Linked DNA regions of Homo sapiens: all the other regions are linked to region 1. The links are contacts of gene promoters, found by promoter capture Hi-C in blood cells and fetal thymus (Javierre and others, 2016). All regions are on one chromosome and are shown on one strand. Each heading gives the region's core, a stretch centred on a gene start or on the middle of the fragment in contact. The rest is flanking DNA. Distances are from core to core; before and after follow the strand shown.

Region 1 (3,706 bases), core at 277-2,776:
CTCACGCCTGTAATCCCAGCACTTTGGGAGGCCAAGGCGGGCGGATCACGAGGTCACGAGATCGAGTCCATGCTCGCTAACACGGTGAAACCCCGTCTCTACTTAAAATACAAAAAAAAAAAAAAATTAGCCGGGCGTGGTGGCGGATGCCTGTAGTCTCAGCTGCTCTCGAGGCTGAGGCAGAAGAAGCAGAAGAATGGCGTGAACCCCGGGAAGCGGAGGTTGCAGTGAGCCGAGATCGCTCCACTGCACTCCAGCCTGGGCAACAGAGCAAGACTCTGTCTCAAAAAAAAAAAAAAAAAAGGAAATTAGCCGGGTGTGGTGGTGCACGCCTATAGTCCCAGCTACTCAGGAGGCGGAGGCACGAGAATCGCTCAAACCTGGGAGGGGGAGGTTGCAGTGAGCCGAGATCGCGCCACTGCACTCCAGCCTGGGCGACAGAGTGAGACTCCGTCTCAAAAAATTAAAAAGTGCAGGGAGTGGCTGAGATCTCCTAGGAAGCTGCAGGACTCAAAGCTTCAGCTTCATCCCGCCAGTCCAGTACTTCGAGTTTGCACCCTATCTGTATACTCATCTCATCCCACTCCTCCAAGACCATTCTTGGTCTGTATTTCCCACAATATCTATTCTGCGCCATGGCCCCGAGTCGCTAAGGCTGCCCTTCCTCCCCGACGCCCAGCAGATGCACACATGGAGGTGCTCAGTGTTTGCTGTCTCCAAAGCCCACAGTTTTGAGCCTGAGCACCAACCCCATCCCAGGTTCTTGCAGAGCACGGAACAGTCTGTCGGCACCCAGCGTTTGCTGGCCTGGGTCTGGGAACACCGCGTCCCGGCCGGGCACACCGCGCCAGCACCCACGGTGTCAGTTTAATTTGTAAAACTGCACCGGCCACGGTGCGCACTGCAGGCGCCAGGTGTTTGCTGGCTTGGGTCCCTAAGCTCTGAGTCCAGGCTGTGCACACAGGTGGCGCCTCTGCTGCTGTGGTCTGATTTTGAGACTACGTCCTAGCACGAGGCATACAGTCCGCTCCGCAGAAGTTCTTCGTGGTCAGGCCGCCGAGGCCCTCCTGCCCGCAGCTGCGACCGCACCCCCGTCCCGGGCCCCGCGCGCCGCCAAGCCGCCTCCCTGGCCGCGGCTGTTCCAGACCGCCCCGCCGTCGCCTCCCGCGCAGTTCCCTGCAGGGAGCCCCTCCCGCGCCCGCCCAAGGCCGCCCAGGCTGGCGCTGTTCCGGACCCGAGCCCCCTCCCCGCCGGCCTGGCTCTCCCCGGCTGTTCCGGCCCCGGAGCTCCCCCGCCGGGCCTCGGCTCCCGCGCTGTTCCCGCCCGCGCCCCTCCCGCCCCGCGGCTGTTCCAGCCCCGGCGCCCTCCGCCCCGCGGCCGCTGCGCGCCCTAGGCCGGGCGCTGCGAGGGCGCGGCGGGAGGGGGCGCAGCGCGGAACAGCCGCCTCCGCCGGCCCCGCCGCCGCTCACCCTCCAGGGCCTCAAAGATCGCCTGCGCCATCTTGGAGCCGCCGCCGTCGCCGCCACAGGAACCGAAGCCCGGCTACGCGAGCATTGTGGGAGCCGTGGCGGTTGAGTCGGGGCCGCCAGGGGGCGCCCAGGAGCCGCCGCCGAGCCCCCAGCCCTGGAAACCCAACCTAGGCTCGCGGGACCCCAGCATCTCTGGGCTGCCCTGGCTCCACTCGATAACCCAGTCACCGGGCCACCGAGTGTGGACCCCGCCTCACTTGAACGACCAAGTCTACACCGACCTTATATCCGCCGCACACGCGGAACTTCCCATCCCTATTATCTAAATCCGCATCCCCATCTCACCGGACCCGACCCCCCAGCTCTGACACAGAATCCCCCATTCCCACAGCACGTGAGTCCTCCAGGTCTGCTGCACGGACCCCATTTCCGCTGAGCACAGTATACCCCGACTCTGCAACAAACCATGACCCCTATCCCATCTCACCCAGACCACCCAACTGTCACAGGGATCTCCAGGCTGTACAACATAGATTCCCATCCCTCATCCCCTATTAGAGACTTCCCGCCCCTACTACCCTGCTCAACTCTGCCTGTTGGGAGCCCGCCTCAGCCTCCAGAGTAGCGGGGACTACCGGCACACGCCACCATGTCCTACTAATTTTTATTTTTATTTTTTTGTAGAGATCAGGGTCTCACTATTTTGTCCAGGCTGGTGTCAACTTCTGGCCTCCAGCGATCCTCACGTCTCGGCCTCCCAAAGCACTGGGATTACAGGCGTGGGTCTCCGTGCTGGGGATCCCATTATCTCTTAAGTAACTCCATCTCTTCACCCTCCATCCCTGCTTGTTGGGACCCCATTTCTGTCACATAAACCCCCAACACCCACCCCAGCCACTCCTAGCCCAGCCTCCGAGGGGTCCTATCCAGGTCTCACAGAATGAGAGGTGCTCCTCACTGGGACTTCCCCTACACACACAGACCCCTCTCATCTTCATTCATCCTCCATCAACTGCTTATTAACGGCCTGCTATGCACCAAGTCCCGTAATAGCTCTAGAGACATGGTGGTCCTTTCCCATGGAGTTAGAGGTGGGAAGAAAGACCGACATTAGGCCAGGCGCGGCGGCTCATGCCTGTAATCCCAGCACTTTGGGAGGCCGAGGCAGGCGGATCACGAGGTCAGGAGTTCGAGACCATCCTGGCCAACCTAGTGAAACCCCGTCTCTACTAAAAATATAAAAATTATCTGGGCATGGTGGCACGTGCCTGTAATCCCAGTTACTTGGGAGGCTGAGGCAGGAGAATTGCTTGAACCAGGGAGTCAGAGGTTGCAGTGAGCCGAGATCGTGCCACAGACTCCAGCCTAGCGACAGAGCAAGACTCTGTCTCAAAAAAAAAAAAAAAGACCGACATTAAATCTTAAAGGTTATTTAATTACAATGTGTATGCCGGCCACAGTGGTTCACACCTGTAATCCCAGCACTTTGGGAGGCTGAGGCTGGAGGATCATTTGTATCCAGGAGTTTGAGACCTGTCTGAGCAACATAGTGAGACCCCGTCTCAACAACAACAACAAAAGTAGCTGGGCATGGTGGTTTGCACTTGAGTACCAGCTACTCAGGAGGCTGAGGCAGGAGAATTGCTTAAGCCTAGGAAGTAGAGGCTGCAGTGGGCTATGATCTCACCACTGCACTCAAGCCTAGGCAACAGAGTGAGACCCTTTCTCAATAATCAATGTGTGATAGTGGTTTCAAAGTACCCTTGGGAAACAAGCAAGAGTTTAGGGAGTGCATAGAGGGGAGGGGGAAACTAAGGAAGGGGCTATTGTTAAAGAAAAAATTAGGCCGGGCACAGTGGCTCACGCCTGTAATCCCAGCACTTTGGGAGGCCAAGGTGGGCAGATCACCTGAAGTCGGGAGTTTGAGACCAGCCTGACCAACATGGAGAAACCCCGTCTCTACTTAAAAACAATAAATAAATAAAATTAGGTGGCCATGGTGGCACATGCCTATAATCCCAGCTACTCGGGAGGCTGAGGCAGGATAATTGCTTGAACCCGGGAGGCGAAGGTTGCGGTGAGCCGAGATCACGCCACTGCACTCCAGCCTGGACAACAAAAGCAAAACTCCATCTCAAATTTAAAAAAAAAAAGAAAAAGAAAAAATTATTTACCTGGGTGTGGTGGCTCCTCTGTAATCCCAGCACTTTGGGAGGCTGAGGTGGCGGGAGGATTGC
Region 2 (3,523 bases), core at 169-2,668, 350 kb after region 1:
TATGGAAAGTAGATAATAGTGTTGTATCAATATTTCTGATTTTGATAATTGTCCTGAAATTATATAGGAGAATGCCCTTGTTTTTAAGAAATATATACTAAAATATTTGGAAGTAAAAGAGTATGATATCTGTGACTTTTTCTCAGAAGGCTTAAAAAAAATGTAGTCATATGTGTGTTGAGAGAGAGTGTATATGAGTGTCTGAATGTGAATGATAAACAAATGGGGTGCAGTGTTAACATTTGATGAATTTGGGCAAAGAGTATATGGGAATTCTTTTAATATTGCAGTTTGTCTGTAAATTATGTCAAAGTTACAAAACAAGTCTTTTTTAGCAACCATTATTTGTGAAACTTTATAATATAACATTTCTATTTTTTGAGATGGAGTCTCGCTCTGTTGCCCAGGCTGGAGTGCAGTGGCATGGTCTCGGCTCACTGCAGCCTCTGCCTCCTGGGTTCAAGCGATTCTCCTGCCTCACCCTCCTTAGTAGCTGGGATTAGGTGCCTGCCACCACGCCCAGCTAATTTTTTGTATTTTTAGTAGAGAAGGGATTTCACCATGTTAGCCAGGCTGGTCTGAACTCCTGACCGTGTGATCCGCCCACCTTGGCCTCCCAAAGTACTGGGATTTCAGGAGGGAGCCACTGCACCTGGCCTATAATATAAATTTTCAAACAGACAAATAGAAAGACTAGTATAATAGAAAAACGTGATTGTTAACATTTTGTCATACACCTATCTCCATGCACCCATAAATGTATTTTTTCTGAACCATTTGAAGTAATTTGTAGACCTCAGGACACTTGCCCCTAGATACTTCAGTATGTATCTTCTATGAGTAACAATTTTTCTCTTCATAACCATGATATCATTATCATATGTATGAAAATCAATAGTTATTTAAGCCAGACACTTTGGGAGGCTGAGGTGGGAGGATTGCTTGAGTTTAGGAGTTTAAAACCAGTCTGTGCAACATGGTGAAATCCCATCTCTACAAAAGTAAAAAAAGGTAGTCCCAGCTACTTGGGAGGCTGAGGCAGGAGGACTGCTTAAGCCTGGGAGGTTGAGGCTACAGTGAGCTATGATCGTGCTGCTGCACTCCAGCCTGGGCAACAGAGGGAGACCCTGTCTCAAGAAGAAGAAGAAAAAAATCTAAAACAGCTCTTTTATTTTTTGTTGTTGTTGTTTTCTTTAAATGATGCATTAACTTTTTGAAGAGATCAGACATGAGTCTCCTTTGTCTGATTTTTTCCTCATGTTGTCATTTAATATATCTCTGTGAATTCTAGTAACTGGAAGTTAGGTGTAAAAGCTTGATTAGTTCAGGTTAAATATTTCTGGTGAGAATACTTTATATAGTCATGGTGTATAACATTCAAATGACAGATCTATCATAAATTAACCATTATTGTGGATTATTGAGTTTGTTTCCAGTTTTGATTCTAAATAATGTTTTGAAGATTAATTTTTATATAAGGCTTTATTAGGTTTAGCTCTTTAGGTAAGATGTCTAAGCTTGAAATTATTCGGTTATAGACACAACACACTTATAGGTGACTCTTGGTAGGTTCGATTTTTCTTTTGTTTAAAACAAAAGATATGTTAATTTCAGCTAATTTTTAATTAGTGTTTTTTTATGAAGCTACCCAAAAGTTTTAAAATTCCAATATATTTTCCCATGTTTAGGGGCTGAAAGAAGTGACACTTCTTGGTCAGAATGTTAATAGTTTTCGGGACAATTCGGAGGTCCAGTTCAACAGTGCAGTGCCTACCAATCTCAGTCGTGGCTTTACCACCAACTATAAAACCAAGCAAGGAGGACTTCGTTTTGCTCATCTTCTGGATCAGGTCTCCAGAGTAGATCCTGAAATGAGGATCCGTTTTACCTCTCCCCACCCCAAGGATTTTCCTGATGAGGTGAGCGTCAGGTTAGCTGTGACAAACTGATATTAGTATTCTTGAGCATGCCAAAGGCTGGACCCAGTAGGGATGCAGCAGAGACCTGGAGTCCTGCTTAGGGATCCTGTGGGGTATTGCTGCATCACCCTCCAGATCTGCTGGTCCTTTGAAGATTTGAAGTCCACCAGTGGCTGGGCACGGGGCTTACACCAATAATCTCAACACTTGGAGACGCTGAGGCAGGTGGATTACTTGAGCTCAGGAGTTGGAAACCAGCCTGGGCAACATGGCGAAACCCCGTCTCTACTGCAAATACAAAAAATTAGCTGGGTGGGGTGGGATACGACTGTAGTTCTGGCTACTTGGGAGACTGAGGTGGCATACGACTGTAGTTCCAGCTACTTGGGAGACTGAGGTGGGAGAATCACATGAGCCCAGGAAGTCGAGGCTGCAGTGAGCCGAGATCGCACCACTGCACTCCATCCTGGGTGAGATAGCGAGACCCTGTCTCGAAAAAAAAGTCTGCCAAGGTGGGAGTGGAGGTAGGACTGATATTCAGCGGGAGGTTAAGACCACCTGCGGGACCGTGAGGGCTGTACAGAGAGGATTTGTTACAAAGTGGGCAGCTGAGTGGTAATAATGGTGGTGGGGCGGTAATGGTGGTGTGGGGTGGACAGGAAGGAGGTGATGTGGTGCTCTGGGAAACAGCCCAGACTTTCGCCTCAGACCCGGGTTCAAATCTCAGCTTTTCCACTGTTTTACCAGCGAGCATGTGATGTTTTCAACTTTTCATCTTTATCTGTAAAATGGGGTTAATAAGGGGTTAACAATTACCTCCTGCTTTGGGTTGTTGTGAAATAGATACAAAGGCATACCTTGTTTTATTGCACTCTGCAGATATTATGGAGTTATTTTTAACAAATGGAAGGTTTGTGGCAACTCTGAATAAGTCTGTCAGCACCATTTTTCCAACAGCATGTGCTTACTTCATGTCTCTGTGTCATATTTTGGTAATTTTCACAATATTTCAAACTTCATTATTATTACATCTGTTATGGTGATCTGTGATCAGTGCTATTTAATGTTATTCTTAAAATTGTTTCGGAACACCATGAGCCACACCCACATAAGAAAGTGACCTAAATTGGTAAATGATGTGTGTGTTCTGACTGTTCCACAGACGGCCATTCCCCCATCTCTCTCCCTTTCCTCAGGCCTCCCTATTCTCTGAGACACAACAATATTGAAATTGGGCCATTTAATCACCCTACAATGGCCTCTAAAGTGCTCAAGTGAAGGGAAGGGTCGCAGGGCTCTCACTTGAAATCAAAAGCCAGAAATGTTTAAGCTTACTGAGGAAATCATGTTGAAAGCCGAGCTAGGCTGAAAGCTAGGCCTCTTATGTCAACCAGCCAAGTTGTAAATGCAAAGGAAAAGTTCATGAAGGAAATTAAAAGTACTACTCCACTGAACACATGAATGATAAGAAAACAACACAACCTCTTTGGCCGGGTGTGATGGCTCACAGGCTGGGCGCAGTGACTCACACCTTTAATCCCAGCATTTTGGGAGGCCAAGGTGGGTGGATCACCTGAGGTCAGGAGTTCTAGATCAGCCTGGCC
Region 3 (3,542 bases), core at 223-2,722, 390 kb before region 1:
CTTGCATGCCTAAAAATATACTTATTTATTCCTCATACTTGACTGATAATATGGCTTAGTATAGGAGTTCTAGATTGAAAACGTATTTTCTCTCAGAATTTTGAAAGCCTCCCTATATCGTCTTCTAGCCACTAATGTTACTATGGACAAAAATGCTATTCCTATTACCTGCTCTTTCATAAGTAACCTGTTGCCCTTTCCCTGCCCCCTCCTCACCTCCTATCACCAAGATTTTTGATTTTCTCTTTATCCTTTGTGTTAAAAAATTTCATGATGATGTGCCATAATGTTTTTCCTTTGTTTTGTTTTCTTTCATTATGCTGGGCACTCAGCAGGCTCTGCCACTCTGGAAACTCAGTTTCTTTGATAATTTTCTTCCATTTCTTCTGTATTTCCAGAACTCCTGTTAATCTAATGGTCGACCTTATGGATTCATCCTCTAATTATCTTTTCTCTTTTATTTTTCCATTTGTATTTCTGTTCTACTTTCTGAGAGATTTCCTCAACTTTATATATTAAGACTTATATAAATTATTTATTTTTCTATTATTATTATTTGAGAACAGGTCTTGCTGTATTGCCCAGGCTGGAGTGCAGTGGCATGATCATAGCTCACTGCAGCCTCCATCTCCTGGGCTTGAGCAGCCCTCCTGACTCAGCCTCCTAAGTAGCTGGGACCACATGCATGAGCCACCACAGCTGGCTAATTTTTTTTCTTTTTTTATTATTTATTTATTTATTTATTTATTTATTATTTTTTTGAGATGGAGTCTCGCTCTGTTGCCCAGGCTGGAGTGCAGTAGTGTGATCTCGGCTCACTGCAAGCTCTGCCTCCTGGGTTCATGTCATTCTTCCGCCTCAGCCTCCCTAGTAGCTGGGACTACACGTGTTCGCCATCATGCCCGGCTAATTTTTTGTATTTTTAGTACAGATGGGGTTTCACCATGTTAGCCAGGATGGTCTCGATCTCCTGACCTCGTGATCCGCCCGCCTCGGCCTCCCAAAGTGCTGGGATTACAGGCGTGAGCCACTGAACCAAGCCTAATTTCTCTTTTTAAAAGAATGTTTAGCAGAGAAGAGGTCTATCTAATATTGCCCTGGTTGGTCTTGAACTCCTGGCTTTAAACAATCCTTCTACCTTGGCTTCTCAAAGTGCTGGGATTACAGGCATGAGCCATAATGCCCAGCCAATTTTTCTATTATATTTTTAATTCCCCAGAGCTGTTACTTACTCTATTTTTTTTAGAGCATTTTATCTTTGCTTTATGGATGCAGTATTTTCTATTATCTCTCATAGACTGCTTATTGTTTTTTAAAAATATTTTTCTGTTCTCTTCAGTTTCTGTTCCCTTTGAGTTTCTTTTTTCTCTATTTGATGCTGTCTTTCCTGGTGGAGGTTTATCTTAAATATCTGGTGACCCTTTGTTGTCTCTTCATATTTAAGAGTGAGTCACTAAGTATTTGGAAGCTCTGTGTTAACAGGAAGTTTATCTGTAGGATGATAAAGTGGGTACCTAGGTGTTTTGTTGGGGGACCTCAAATATCAGTATGTATAGATCTTTCCTCTGGGGTTAATTAATTAAAATTAATTCCCTGATATCTTGCCTGGAGAATACAAGCCTTGCTGTCAGCATTCCTGGAATAAATTTCAGCAGGAGGACTGAGTGCGCTTCACCATTCAGCATGTAGACAATTCATCTAATCTCTGTTTTCAGTCTGAAATCCTCCTACCTTAGCCTCCCTGCTATTATATCTTTAGCTGTGCCTGGTATCTCAGTGTCTGGAACTTCTCTACCTCAATTTTGTCCCAGGGGCTGCTAGGGAGATGAAAGGGTAGTTGTCTAAGTGAGTAGGATGGAGAAAAAGACCTGGCAGTTTCACTTCCTATAAAGGCTTTCAGCCAAACCCTCTCTCTTCTGCCTCTCACATCACCTCTGATCTGCTCTGTCCCAGTCCTGACATTCTAGTGTTCTGCAGTACGAATCTGTTTGTCCCTTGTTAGTATAACCCTCAGCAAACATTTAGAATTGTTTTCTCAGCTCAGCTATGGTTTTCCATCTTCCAAAAATTTGTTGATATCCTTAATCTGCTATTGATTTCTTTCTTATTCTCTTTGTCTGTAGACTGGTAAACCTAAAAATGTTAACTCACTGTCACTTCAGTGATTTGGGGAGTGAACAGGGATAAACATATGTGTTTAATCTGTCCAAGCATAAACAGAAGTGCAAGACTGTCAAGATGTCCACTCTTTGCTCCTATTAAAAAAAGTTAGAACCAGAAAATTCATAGATATGGCTGGGCGAGGTGGCTCACGCCTGTAATCCAGCACTTTGGGAGGCCAAGGCGAGTAGATCATGAGGTCAGGAGTTCAAGATCAGCCTGGCCAAGATGATATAACCCCATTTCTACTAAAAATACAAAAATTAGCCAGGCACAGTGGCAGGCGACTGTAATCCCTCCCAGCTACTTGGGAGGCTGAGGCAGAAGAATCGCTTGAAGCTGGGGGACAGAGGTTGCAGTGAGTCAAGATTGCACCACTGCACTCCAGCCTGGGCGACAGAGTAAGACTCCGTCTCCAAAAAAAAAAAAAAAAAAAAAAAGAAAATTCATAGGTAAAATATAGATAAAATTCTACTCTCATAGGCCAATGTGGAAAAAGTAGGAGTCTGAGAGTTGCGGTACATGTGTCCAAGCCCTGTTATTATCATTTACTGGTCTGAAGCTAGGTAAGTTAAATTTTCTGACCATCTGTTTCCTCATCTGTAAAGTGGTGATAATCATCCCTAGATAGTCTATCTTACTTGTAATGATGAAGTAAAATAATTGATATAAATATATAAACATCAAATATATATCATTTATCATAAACTCTATTAGAAGTAGGCACAGTTAAATATATTTTCAGAGGCACTGTAACATAGTAGAAATAATATGGGCTTCAGATTCACACAGACTTGGGCTCAAATTCCATCTCTGTTACTCACTGGGTTATGTTGGGTAAGTGACTGACACTCTCTGAGCCTTCATTAACCTGTTTATAAAATGGGTATAATACTTTTAACCTGACAAGGCTGTTGTTGAGTATTAAATGAGATAATGCATGTAACATCTATAGGGCCTGACACTTAGTAAGTACTCAACAGATATTAATTCTTCCATGTTGGCCCCTAATTTGAGACCAGCTTTTTTTTTTTTTTTCAGGCTTAATTCAGTTTGTTTTTCTTGTATAAAAACCCTATGCTGTAGCCACAGCTGGAGCCTGGGTCCTCTGCATGGAGACTCTGGTGTGGGTCTTGACGAGGTGGTCAGTGAATTCCTGATAGGGAGACTTGGTGAATATAGTCTCCTTCCAGAGGTCGAGGGTCAGGTAGCTGTAGGTCTTAGAGATGGTGTCAAAGGTGGCCTTGGCGAAGTTGCCAGGGTGGCAGTGCAGCCCCTGGCTGAGGTGTGGCAGTCATCAATACCAGCCATCATGAGGAGCTTCTTGGGCACAGGTGCGGAGACGATGCCAGTGCCCCTGGGTGCAGGGATGAGGTGCACCA

What was found. Contacts are between HindIII fragments. The CHiCAGO score rates a contact against its expected background, and 5 or more counts as called.
Region 2: a contact is called between a fragment that was not itself captured here and the fragment with the promoter of ZNF341 in region 1, in 1 of 17 cell types (megakaryocytes). The highest score is 5.5, in megakaryocytes.
Region 3: a fragment that was not itself captured here is called in contact with the fragment with the promoter of ZNF341 in region 1 in 4 of 17 cell types (endothelial precursors, M2 macrophages, neutrophils and 1 more); the score reaches 8.9 in endothelial precursors.

The regions. Positions count from the first base shown.
Region 1 is chr20:33,729,816-33,733,521 of GRCh38, reverse strand. It overlaps ZNF341 (zinc finger protein 341), which reads right to left and starts at 1,526. Exons shown (of 15, transcript NM_001282933.2): 1 at 1,470-1,526. The coding sequence starts at 1,500. LOC124904890 (a long non-coding RNA gene) reads left to right here and starts at 1,539. Exons shown (of 2, transcript XR_007067569.1): 1 at 1,539-1,876. RefSeq lists enhancers at 1-157, 1,826-1,885, 1,896-1,955 and a silencer at 1,006-1,715. The HindIII fragment of the contact is 12,577 bases long and covers 519-3,706 here.
Region 2 is chr20:33,377,857-33,381,379 of GRCh38, reverse strand. CDK5RAP1 (CDK5RAP1 mitochondrial tRNA methylthiotransferase) reads left to right here. Exons shown (of 14, transcript NM_016408.4): 8 at 1,689-1,919. Among named protein-coding and RNA genes, the nearest start is that of CDK5RAP1, 22 kb to the left of the region's middle. The HindIII fragment of the contact is 203 bases long and covers 1,317-1,519 here.
Region 3 is chr20:34,122,984-34,126,525 of GRCh38, reverse strand. It overlaps the pseudogene RPS2P1. Among named protein-coding and RNA genes, the nearest start is that of EIF2S2, 13 kb to the right of the region's middle. RefSeq lists a silencer at 1,763-1,832. The HindIII fragment of the contact is 6,261 bases long and covers 1-3,542 here.